Linked DNA regions of Homo sapiens: region 2 is linked to region 1. The links are contacts of gene promoters, found by promoter capture Hi-C in blood cells and fetal thymus (Javierre and others, 2016). All regions are on one chromosome and are shown on one strand. The core of a region is centred on a gene start or on the middle of the fragment in contact, and the rest is flanking DNA. Distances in the headings are between cores, read along the strand shown. Region 1 holds the start of ATP12A (ATPase H+/K+ transporting non-gastric alpha2 subunit). Region 2 holds the start of PABPC3 (poly(A) binding protein cytoplasmic 3).

Evidence for each region. The method cuts DNA at HindIII sites, captures the fragments that hold promoters and counts their contacts. A CHiCAGO score of 5 or more calls a contact.
Region 2: a contact is called between the fragment with the promoter of PABPC3 here and the fragment with the promoter of ATP12A in region 1, in 5 of 17 cell types (erythroblasts, neutrophils, naive B cells and 2 more). The highest score is 5.9, in erythroblasts.

Annotation. Positions count from the first base shown.
Region 1 is chr13:24,679,127-24,684,257 of GRCh38, reverse strand. ATP12A (ATPase H+/K+ transporting non-gastric alpha2 subunit) reads right to left here and starts at 3,850. Exons shown (of 23, transcript NM_001676.7): 1 at 3,506-3,850; 2 at 2,538-2,696. The coding sequence starts at 3,514. RefSeq lists silencers at 113-202, 3,493-3,802 and enhancers at 618-1,117, 1,118-1,619, 1,719-2,299. The HindIII fragment of the contact is 1,067 bases long and covers 3,134-4,200 here.
Region 2 is chr13:25,093,633-25,099,370 of GRCh38, reverse strand. It overlaps PABPC3 (poly(A) binding protein cytoplasmic 3), which reads right to left and starts at 3,235. Exons shown (of 1, transcript NM_030979.3): 1 at 117-3,235. The coding sequence starts at 3,172. The coding sequence ends at 1,277. It overlaps LOC124900613 (a long non-coding RNA gene), which reads right to left and starts at 3,751. Exons shown (of 3, transcript XR_941762.3): 1 at 3,712-3,751. RefSeq lists a silencer at 3,026-3,320. The HindIII fragment of the contact is 7,788 bases long and covers 2,465-5,738 here.

The DNA.
Region 1 (5,131 bases), core at 2,601-5,100:
CCTTCTACTAATACTGATTGAGTGTGATATTGCTGGGGATTCAGAAGATTAAGGCTGTGTTCTGCACAGAGCACAGCACAACCCACTAAGTTTTGGGCAGATACAAGTAGTGGATGATCCGAGCCATTGTTTGCATGCATGGGACCTCAGACTTCCTGGGCTGGGGGATGAGAGCATGGGGGAGGGGTGGGACGAGGTGGTGGTGGTTATCTGGGGTGCCCTCTGCTGGCCAGCACTGGACTAGCACAGGGCAGCACCCCACCCACCCCTCGGGTCACTGCCTGGCCCTTTCATTCAAAGGCCGGGATACTTCAGTTGTCATTAGGCACTAATTTGCCAAGAAAGGTTGGGAGGCAAAAGCATTCAATATGCTGCTGAAAATTACAGGACCCTTGTAATGTCAAGGGAAAAACAGATATGTCTTCAATCTTAAATGCTAGAGATAATGGGAAATAATAAGAACGATCTATCGTCTGGTGCTGTGCTGTCTTTTCCCTGTTTTATCTCATTTAATCTTCCTAGTAACCCTTAAGAGGTAGAAAAAAAAATCTTATGTTTTTCAAAATAGGAAACTGAACTTCAGTTACACTGGGATTTGAATTGAGGTCAGTCCAGTTTCAGGGAAGCGTTCTTAAATGTCTCTCATGATAGATACGGACAAATGCCCAGTGGTATACTGTTAAATGTTTAACAAACTCTCCAGGAACGATCAATACAAAGCTCGGATTTGTAGAGTTTGCTGATTTCTCACTAGAACCAAGTTTGAAGCTGCTAACAGGATGTCAGTCAGCCTGCCAAGTTTCTGAATACTTAACAAATGGCTCTCTAGCACAAAAGAGACTCCCCTCAGGAGTCACAGAGCTTTAAGATCTGCCAAGGACGGTGGGGACAATCCAGCCCATCTCAAGCTCCGTGTAGAAGTTTCCCCTTCGGTGTTCCCAAGATAAAATCTGTCACATTTCAGACCCAAGGCAGTTTTATTATTAAAGTGGCCAGTTTGGGCTGGACACAGTGGCTCACGCCTGTAATCCCAGCACTTTGGGAAGCTGAGGCGGGTGGATCATCTGAGGTCAGGAGTTCGAGAGCAGCCTGGCCAACATGGGGAAACCCCGTCTCTACTAAAAACAACAAAAATTAGCTGGGTGTGATGGCGGGCGCCTGTAATCCCAGTGACTCGGGAGGCCGAGGCAAGAGAATCGCTTGAACCCAGGAGGTGGAGGTTGCAGTGAGCCTAGATAGCGCCATTGCACTCCAGCCTGGGCAACAAGAGCGAAACTCTGTCTCAAAAAAAAAAAAAAGGCTAGTTTTAATAACTCCAGAGCTCTTCCTTAATAATAATAATATTGTACTCCCCTAAAGCACGTGAATTACAAAATCCTCATCTCATTTTTTCCCCTCATAGACCCCAGCAAATTATTTATTTCCCATTTTACATAAAGGAAATGGACCTTCAGTGAGGGTCAGTCATTTGTTGCCAGTTTCAGCTCAGTGGAGAAGTGGGACTCTGATGGGGCCCGAGGTCCTCCCAATCCAAGCTCCACATTTTTACCACTGAAACTGCTTTTCCATGAGGTTTCACACCTGCAATCTAGCATGGCCTAGGGGCTTTGGTTTTCCTCCTCAGAAGTTCCAGCTCAAATAGTTTTACTAATCAATTGAAAACTGGCAAGTGGTTACTTAACTCTCACTGAAGCAGCTGCGGGGAGAGAGGTCTGGCCATGCCTGTGGGGCCTGGAATCAGAGGCTCTTCCTTCTGAGTTCTACAGGGACTGCCTCCAACCAGAATGCAGGAATCCTGCAGAGGCCCTGACCTCTGGGTGGATACTATCACACCATTCAAAACACACACACACACATACACACACCACACACCACACACACACCACACACCACACATATACACCACACACTACACACACACCACACGCTACACACACACCACACATACCATGCACATACACACACCACACATACACACCACACACTACACACACACCACACGCTACACACACACCACACATACCATGCACATACACACACCACACACACCACACACATATATACCACACACATACACACACCACACACATACACACACCACACACACACCACACACATATACACACCACACACACACACCACACACACATCACACACACATCACACACACCACACATACACACACCATACACACACACCATACACACACACCACACACATACACACACCACACACTACACACACCATATACACACACCACACACCATACACACACACCACACACCATACACCACACACCACACATACACACACACACCACACACTACACAGACACACCACACATACACACACACCACACATACACCACACACACACACCACACAGACACACCACGCAGACACCACACACCACACACAATCTCAAGGGGATTTCAAATCCCTCAGACTGAATGTCTGTGGTAAGAGGTGGGTTCTAGGGGCAAGCTCTTGCGGGGAAGGGCCATAGCCGGCAGGACCCCGTGGCTTAAGGCTACTGACCAGATGGAGTTCTTTCTGAAACTCCTCTTTGTGATTTTTCTTTTTGAGTTCCAGGCAGTTGTTCTTCAGACCCCTATACTTCTCCTTGCCATCCCCCTTGTCTGTTTTCACGATGTCCTTAGTTCCGCTGAGCTCCACGGAGTAAATTTCTGGGGTTTTCTGAAAGAGAAGCCCAGGTGCAATATTGGCCCCAAATGGGGTTTCCGAAGAGGTGCTGAGCGCCCCTCTGCGGGGTCAGGACCTGCAGGAGTCAGGAGCCCCTTCTCCCTTTCCTTCCCTCCTCTGGGGAGGCCGGAGGGAGTCGGACAGTGGAGTCTCTCCCCCACCTCCCGCCGACCTTGGCTTCCTCTCCGTCCGTGTAGAGGGGAGGCGGGGTGGGCACAGGCCAGCCAGCAGCTCCTCAGGGTGACCCTTCTCTGGGTGGAGCAGGTGGGAAGTTACCCCCCCAACTCCTGACTGATGCCTCCAAGGAGCTGTGAGGTTTCCTTAGAACCTCGAGGTTCCTTAGGCACCTCGAGGTTTCCTCTGAGGTGTCCTTCCCAGGGGACACAACAGCTGTGCGTCCTGTTTCTTGGGGAGGAGGCACCCACTAAGCTTACGACCCTCAGTCCTGATCAGGGGGCCCTAACCGGAAGTCTTTTCAGACCGCAACGAATCCATGTCACCCCATCCTCCGAGTCGGAGCCCGCAGGTGCCATGGAGCTGGCCTAGGACCCCTTGGCCCCTTCTCGCTCCTCTGGACTGGCTTCTTTCCCCAGCCAGCCCCGGCGGCCGCACGGAGCCGTGGCGGGGAGTCAGAGAAGCGGTGCCCAGGCCGGGGGGCGCTCAGAGGAAAGGCGGCCTCCCCTTGCCCCGGGACGGGGCGTTTCTCCTCTTCGCCTTTTCCTCGCTTCCCGTCAGCCTGCTCCGGTCCCCGGGGCCTTGGCCCAGCGTCTCGCATCCTCGGCCGGCGCGGGGGCTGCACGCACCTGGTGCATGCTGGGCTGGTGGCGCCGCGGGCTGCGGGCGTGGAGCGCGGATCCGGGACCGCAGCGGCGGAGCGCACGGTGGGGGGCCTCGTGTGGCTGTGGCAGTGGCAGTGGCTGAGGTGTTGGCGGTGGAGATACCGGCGGCGGCGCGGGCCCTGCACGCACCTCCGCGGCCGATCGCCAGCCGCTGCACCGGGGAGGTGGCACCAGCCTTAAATGCCGCCCGCCCCGCCCACGTCCCCGCCAGGGCGCAGGCCAGCGGACGCCTCGGAGGGTAGGAAACCCGCCGGCGCGCGCGCAGGGAGGGGGACCGACAGCTAGGGGTCGGGAGAGTCCAGGATTGAGGACCCCCTGGGAATCCCCTTCCCTTTAGTAGCCGAACGCCAGGGGGCGGGGTCTCTAGGGGGCGGGTCCGGCATCCAGGTGAGTACAGCCCTGGTTCCGCTGGGCGCCCAGAGCCGGACCAGCTGCTCCGGCGAGCTCCCGGCACGCCCACGTCCTGTCCAGGCTTCCCTGAAAACCCACACATGCCTTTTTTTAAAAATGTAATTTGCCTACCAATAAATCAATTTATAAAAATGTGTATGCAGAGAAGGGGAAATTGCAGTTTCTAACAGCAACTACTGTTGGAGATGTCCCGGCTAGAAAAGGCCAATGTGTTTTTGAGAATGGATTTAGATAGGTAAATTCAAGCTTCCGAGAGAATTTGGGAATAACTGAGAGACTCTGAAGAGTAGCTGAATTAATTTGCCGGATCCAGATAAGAATTTGGAATTCTGAAACAATTTGGAGAGGGAATGGGGAGGAGAGATGAGAGGATTAGGGTCGGTGAGACCACAGGAACCTGGGGCCCCAGGCTGCGGGTGCGCAGGAGCGGAGGCTGTTGGCTGGACTGGGCTGGAGAGGTCTGTCTCCACCTATTTATGTCACTCCCAGCTGAGACTCTATACATGAAGGAGAAAAGAATTTCTGACCCTGAAAGTTGATGTGCATACTAAAGCAGTGGTTGTTTTATACTGCTAAGTTTGGGTTGGTTTGTTATGCAGCAATAGATAACTGGGACATGCTCCATGCTCTTAGTGCCCAGCATGAGTTTTTGCACAGGATAGAAAAGGTATTTTCCCCCTGACACTTGAAACATAATTACTCCAGATGAGAAAGATAGCCTGAAAACAATATATCAGAGAGATATTTAGCAGTTAACAGTGGAGGAAATCAAACACGTTCTTTTAAAAGAATGAATCGTGAAGTCTTAAAGTCAGTGAAGAATATTAATTAATGGAGAGGAACATAAAAAATAAAACCCACGAATAGAGTTTAGTAATCAGCACCTATTTAGAAGAACAATAAGAAATTGACATGATTGAAATATATGAAAGGGAGTAGAGATAAGTTTCAAAAGAGGGGGCACTTTATTGGGCCCTTGATGCTCTGCTAATAAGTTTCCATTTAGATAAGGACTAATAGGAGGGTGCTAAGTTTTATTCTTTTTGAAAGTTATATATCAAATATGGTAAGAAAGATTGTCATTTTGACCATATTTAAAATGACTAAGAGTGAGGAGTCCAGAGAAGCAGCAAAAGTAACAATCCCATCATGCAGTGACTAGAACATCTGGCAGAAAAC
Region 2 (5,738 bases), core at 1,986-4,485, 420 kb before region 1:
ATATGTGTGTGTGTGTATAACATACATGTGTGTATATTATATATATGCACACACATTATTTATATGTTTGTGTGTATGTGTGTGTATAGCTATACCCACATTACATAGTGACCATCTCTCTATAATACATAGTTTATTGCAAAGTAATATGGTATAATTATATTTCTATGTAGTGCAATGTCACAGCCTCTACTCATCTTAAAGGAGAATGCTCAAATGGGCTGTCCTTTTATACAATTCACTAGGTGTAACATTAATTATAAATATTTATATTAATTAATATTACCAATAAAGGAGCTACAAGTAGTGATAAATTATATTGGGAGGAGGAGGAGGGATGGTGGGAAGAGGTAGATGAAACATATCCTTATTTGTTACAGCAGGAAGTCAATAGTTAAATTACAAAATTGATAAACCAAGAAATAACTATGTACAATTATTATTGAAGAAAATCAACTACCAGAAACACTAAAACCAAATGATTAAAAGTGATTATCTCTGTGATCAGAACCATGTTTAGCCTCCTGTTCAATTAGATTTTTAAAACTATGTATTTATTTTTTATTTAAAAATAATGCAGTATAAATTAATAATTGTCTTACAATTTTGAACAAATGTTACTGAATTTATAATTACTATTTTGTCATTGCATATTTTCATTTATGAATATTAAAAATAAACACTATTATGTAAAGACCTAAAATTTTGGTGAAAAAGTGATTTTCATATTTGAAATATAGTGGGAGATAGAATAATAGAAAATGTAAAGAAAGACTATTAGTAAAATTGATGATTTTTCTTTTTTTCACTGTTTAAGAAATTTTTATTAAAGCAAGAATTTTATAATCCAAACCATGTTTCCTTGCTCAGTTATCAATTCTGTTACTTAAAACAGAATGGACATTTTGAGCTATTCCACAGTAAAGAATTAAAAAATTAAAGGAATGCTTTAAATTTTTGTACTTTGCTGAAAATTCTTTTCCCAGGGTCTACAAAACATTAACTGGTTTTTGTATTTTACGATTTTTTGTTTTTAAATCAAAATTAAGTAATCTTTTTTTTGTTTTTAAATCAATAAGTAATCTAGGACTAGCATTATATTTGCTAGACCTTGCATTTGCTCGGTACATAAGGTTCAAAGTTTCCTTTCCATTTTTTATTTTAGATTTTGCATTTTTTATTTTAGATTTTGCAATTTTTTTTCCCATAGTTTCTCGATGTTTAGATATTTTTCTTCGGTGAAGCACAAATTTCTTTTCGTGGTCTCTGATCAATTTTAAACAGTTGGAACACCGGTAGCACTGTTAACTGCTTTCTGGGTAGCCTCTTTAGCTTGGTGGGCTTGTAGTACAGCTACAGCTTCATCAACCTTAGAACGGAGTGACTCTGGAGACTCGAGCATATAAAGAAGTTCTGAATTATCAATCTCCAACAACATGCCAGTGATTTTCCCAGCAAGAGTAGGGTGCATGGCTTGAATAAGAGGAAAGAGCCGTTCACCTAACATTTGCTTTTGCTTTTGAGGAGGGGCAGATGCCAACCTGGAGGCAGTCAAAGTTTCCTGACCTTGTACATGAACAGCAAGCTGTTGCATTGTAACTTGTGGCTGTGCATTACGATGTTGCTGAGGATTGCGAACTCCCGCAGCATATTTATACCGTGGAACCGTGCGCACAGCAGGGGTAGCTGCAGCAGCAGCAGCAGCTGCAGGACGTGGACCCACTGTCTGTGTTGATGTGTTAGCAACACGCTGCGTTGACATGACTCGTGGAACCTGTGAAGAAGCTGGTCTCATAGTACTAAATGGTACTCTAGGAGCACCTGGGCGGATAGCACTGGGCTTATTTTGGAATGGATGAGGTCTGGCACCCTGAGCAGTCCAGCGAGGACTTGGTCTTAGTCGAGCAATTTGGCTAGGAGGATAGTATGCAGCATGGTTCTGAGTCTGTGGGACAGCTGTCATGAAGTAACCTGAAGGAGGTGCTCGCTGGTTGGGCACAGCTCGTACACTTGCCATTCTCTGCATATACTCGTTAGTGAGGTAAGCCTGGCGCTCTTCTTTGCGCTGAGCTAAAGCTACATACAATGGCTTTGTGGCCACAATTCTACCGTTCATTTCTGTAACTGCTTTAGTGGCTTCTTCTGGGGAGGAGAAACATACAAAACCAAACCCTTTGCTGCGACCACCTTCCATCATAACCTTTGCACTAGTGATTGTACCAAATGGAGAAAACGCTTTCCGGAGACGTTCATCATCAATACCATCATCAAGATTTTTCACATAAAGATTAACAACCTGGTATCTGGTGATCCTATCTTGCTTCATCTGTTCAAATGTGCGCTTAAGTTCCGTCTGCCGTTCCACTTTTTTCTGAGCTCGACCAACGTAAATTTGTTTTCCATTGAGCTCCTTTCCATTCATCTCATCTACAGCTTTCTGTGCATCTTCATGCCTTTCAAAGCTTACAAATCCAAATCCTTTGGATTTTCCACTTTCATCGGTCATTACTTTCACACTTAAGGCGGGCCCGAACTTGCCAAAGAGATCCTTAAGGCGCTCATCATCCATGTCTTCTCCAAAATTCTTGATGTAAACATTGGGGAACTCTTTTGCCCTAGCTCCAAGTTCAGCTTCTCGTTCTTTACGAGACTTAAATTGTCCAACAAATACTTTGCGACCATTTAGGAGCATTCCGTTCATTTTTTTAATAGCTCTTTCAGCTGCTTCGTGTGTCTCAAAGTGTACAAATCCATAACCCTTGGAACCATTTTCATCACAAACCACGTTACACGAAAGGATGTTACCAAAAGCAGAAACTGTATCATACAGTGCTTTATTATTAATGGACTTATCCAGATTTTTAACGAATATGTTGCCCACTCCACTTTTTCGAAGTGATGGATCACGCTGAGACCACATGATGCGTACTGGCTTGCCCTTTATAACATCAAAATTCATGGTGTCCAGAGCATGCTCCGCGTCCTTCGTATGCTGGAAGTTCACATACGCGTAGTTGGAGGAGCCGCTGGTGATCAAGTCCCTGCAGATCCGGATGGAGAGGATGGGCCCTGCCGGGCTGAACTTCTCGTAGAGCATCGCCTCAGTCACGTCGGGGTGGAGGTCCCCCACGTAGAGCGAGGCCGTTGGGTAGCTGGGGGTGCTGGGGTTCATTCTCGGCACGGCTGCCCGCAGGCACACAAGCCGCGACCTTTCCGTTACAGGAGTAGAGCGCGTGCCGGGGCCGGGGGCGTAGCCGGAGGGAGGGGAGCGGGGGCAAGCGCAGAGGGACAAAAATCAGCCGAAATCGAAAACTACTCAACGGCCGCAGAACGGGGTCGATCCGCTGCCGCTGGCTGCCGGCTGCCGGCGGGGAGCCAGGGTAGCGGTGTCGGGTCCGGGCAGCAGGAAGGCCTTGGTCTCTTAGTTCCTTCTTGGAGCTGCTGCGGGGCCGCTGGCGGGCGGCTCGGGCTCAGCTGCTTCACCGGGTTATTTTGTAAAAGAGCATTAATGATTTTTCTAAAATGATTTTTATAATCCAAATTTAAAATGCCTGGGAAAAAAATAAATGAAAGAATTTTTTTCTCCTTTCTCCTTTAGTATGTTTTTATATATGTTCTACTTTACACAAATATATTTTTATAAAATATTTTCTACTTTTTACCTCGTCTCTACTAAAATTACAAAAAATTAGCTGGGCTTGATGTGCTCACCTGTAATCCCAGCTACTCGGGAGGCCTAGGCACGAGAATCGCTTGAACCCGGGAGGTGGAGGTTGCAGTGAGCAGAGATCGCGCCACTGCCCTCTAGTCTGGGTGACAGAGCGAGACTATCTCAAACAAACAAACAAACAAACAAAAAACCCCGAAAAACCGACTTTTTATATTATATAACAATATAAAACATAATAAATATGTAATTTTATTTTTCATTTATTTATTTTTATTTTACTTATTTATTTTTGAGACGGAGTTTTGCTCTGTCACCCAGGCTGGAGTGCAGTGGTGCGATCTCGGCTCACTGCAACCTCCACCTCCCAGGTTCAAGCGATTCTCCTGCCTCAGCTTCTAAAGTAGCTGGGATTACAGGCACCCACCACCAAGCCTGGCTAATTTTTTGTATTTTTAGTAGAGACGGGGTTTCACCATCTTGGCCAGGCTGATCTTGAACTCCTGACCTCGTGATCCACCCACCTCGGCCTCCCAAAGTGCTGGGATTACAGGCGTAAGCCACCGTGCCCGACCAATAAATATGTAATGTTAATATAGTATTATATGATATAGTCTTTTGAGGTCAGGTTGGGATTCATTATTAAGTATACGTTTTATGATTATAAGTACACAATCTTGTGACCTAATATAGCTACACATCTAAGTAAGTGATGATCTGAAATAATTCTATTTAAGAAAATCCTTTAAGAAAGGTCCAGTCCCACAAAAAATATCAGTTTGGGGGAGGATCTGTTCATTCTGTTCATGTTACAAATAATTTATTTTAGGGTTTTTTGTTTGTTTGTTTGTTTAGATAGAGTCTCGTTCTGTCACCCAGGCTGTAGTGCAGTGGTGCGATCTTGGTTCACCGCAACCTCCACCTCCCGGGTTCAAGGGATTCTAGCGCCTCAGCCTCCCGAATAGCTGGGATTACAGGCAGGCACTACCACGCCTGGCTAATTTTTGTATTGTTTTTAGTAGAAACGGGGTTTCGCCTTGTTGGCTAGGCTGGTCTAGAATTCCTGACCTCAGGTGATCCGCCCACCTACGCCTGCCAAAGCTCTGGGATTACAGGCGTGAGCCGCCGCGCCTAGCCTAGAGTAGAGGGTTTCTTTAAATAGTGGTTGCCACTAATATAAAATTCAATTAAAAGTTTAAAAATGAAGTTGATACACAGCTTTTTAGGAGCACGTCCATCATTTCAACAATGTGGTCTTGTAAAAACCAAGTGCTAGGAAGGGTGTGGTTACTCAACAATATGAGATCGATTTTCTGCCTCATTAACAAAAGCAAAATGCTCTTCCAGAGAAAGGCATCTTCGCAGAACCATTTCGGTGTGTTCATGGGCAGGAAAGCAGATTCCCCACAGATACAGCCCACGGAATATACACTTGGGTGGAAGAAAACCGGGATGAATGTATCAAAATTCCAGGCTTCTTGGAGACCTATGATTTAATTTGTAACTTCATTTTCAGATTTCCCAGAAGTTTTGAGGATTGCAATCCCAAGCCCAGTGATGGTAGAGCATTTAAAACAAGCCTAGACCATACAGGAGAAGGTTATTTCCACTGGACAACTAATCTGCCGATTGTATTATGGTTTAGAGAAAATCCTGATGCAGTTAGCAAACAAATTGATTTGTGTGGAAAAATTTTGTCTGGAAGGAAAAGGAACTGAATAGATAGAAGGGATTTATTTATTATTATTATTATTTTTATTTTGAAGACAGGGCCTCACTCTGTTGCCCAGGCTGGAGTGCAGTGGCCGCAGCTCACTGCAGCCTTCACCTCCCAGGCTTAAGAGATCCTCCCACCTCAGCCTCCCAAGTAGCTGGGACTAGAGGCACATGCCACCACACCCAGCTAATTTTTGTATTTTTGGTAGAGATGGGGTTTTGCCATATTGCCCAGGCTGGTCTGGAACTCCTGAGCTCTCCAACTCCTGAGCTTAAGCAATCCACCCACCTCGGCTTCCCAAAGTGCTGGGATTGCAGGCGTGAGCCACCACACCTGGCCAGAGAAATTTCTTCT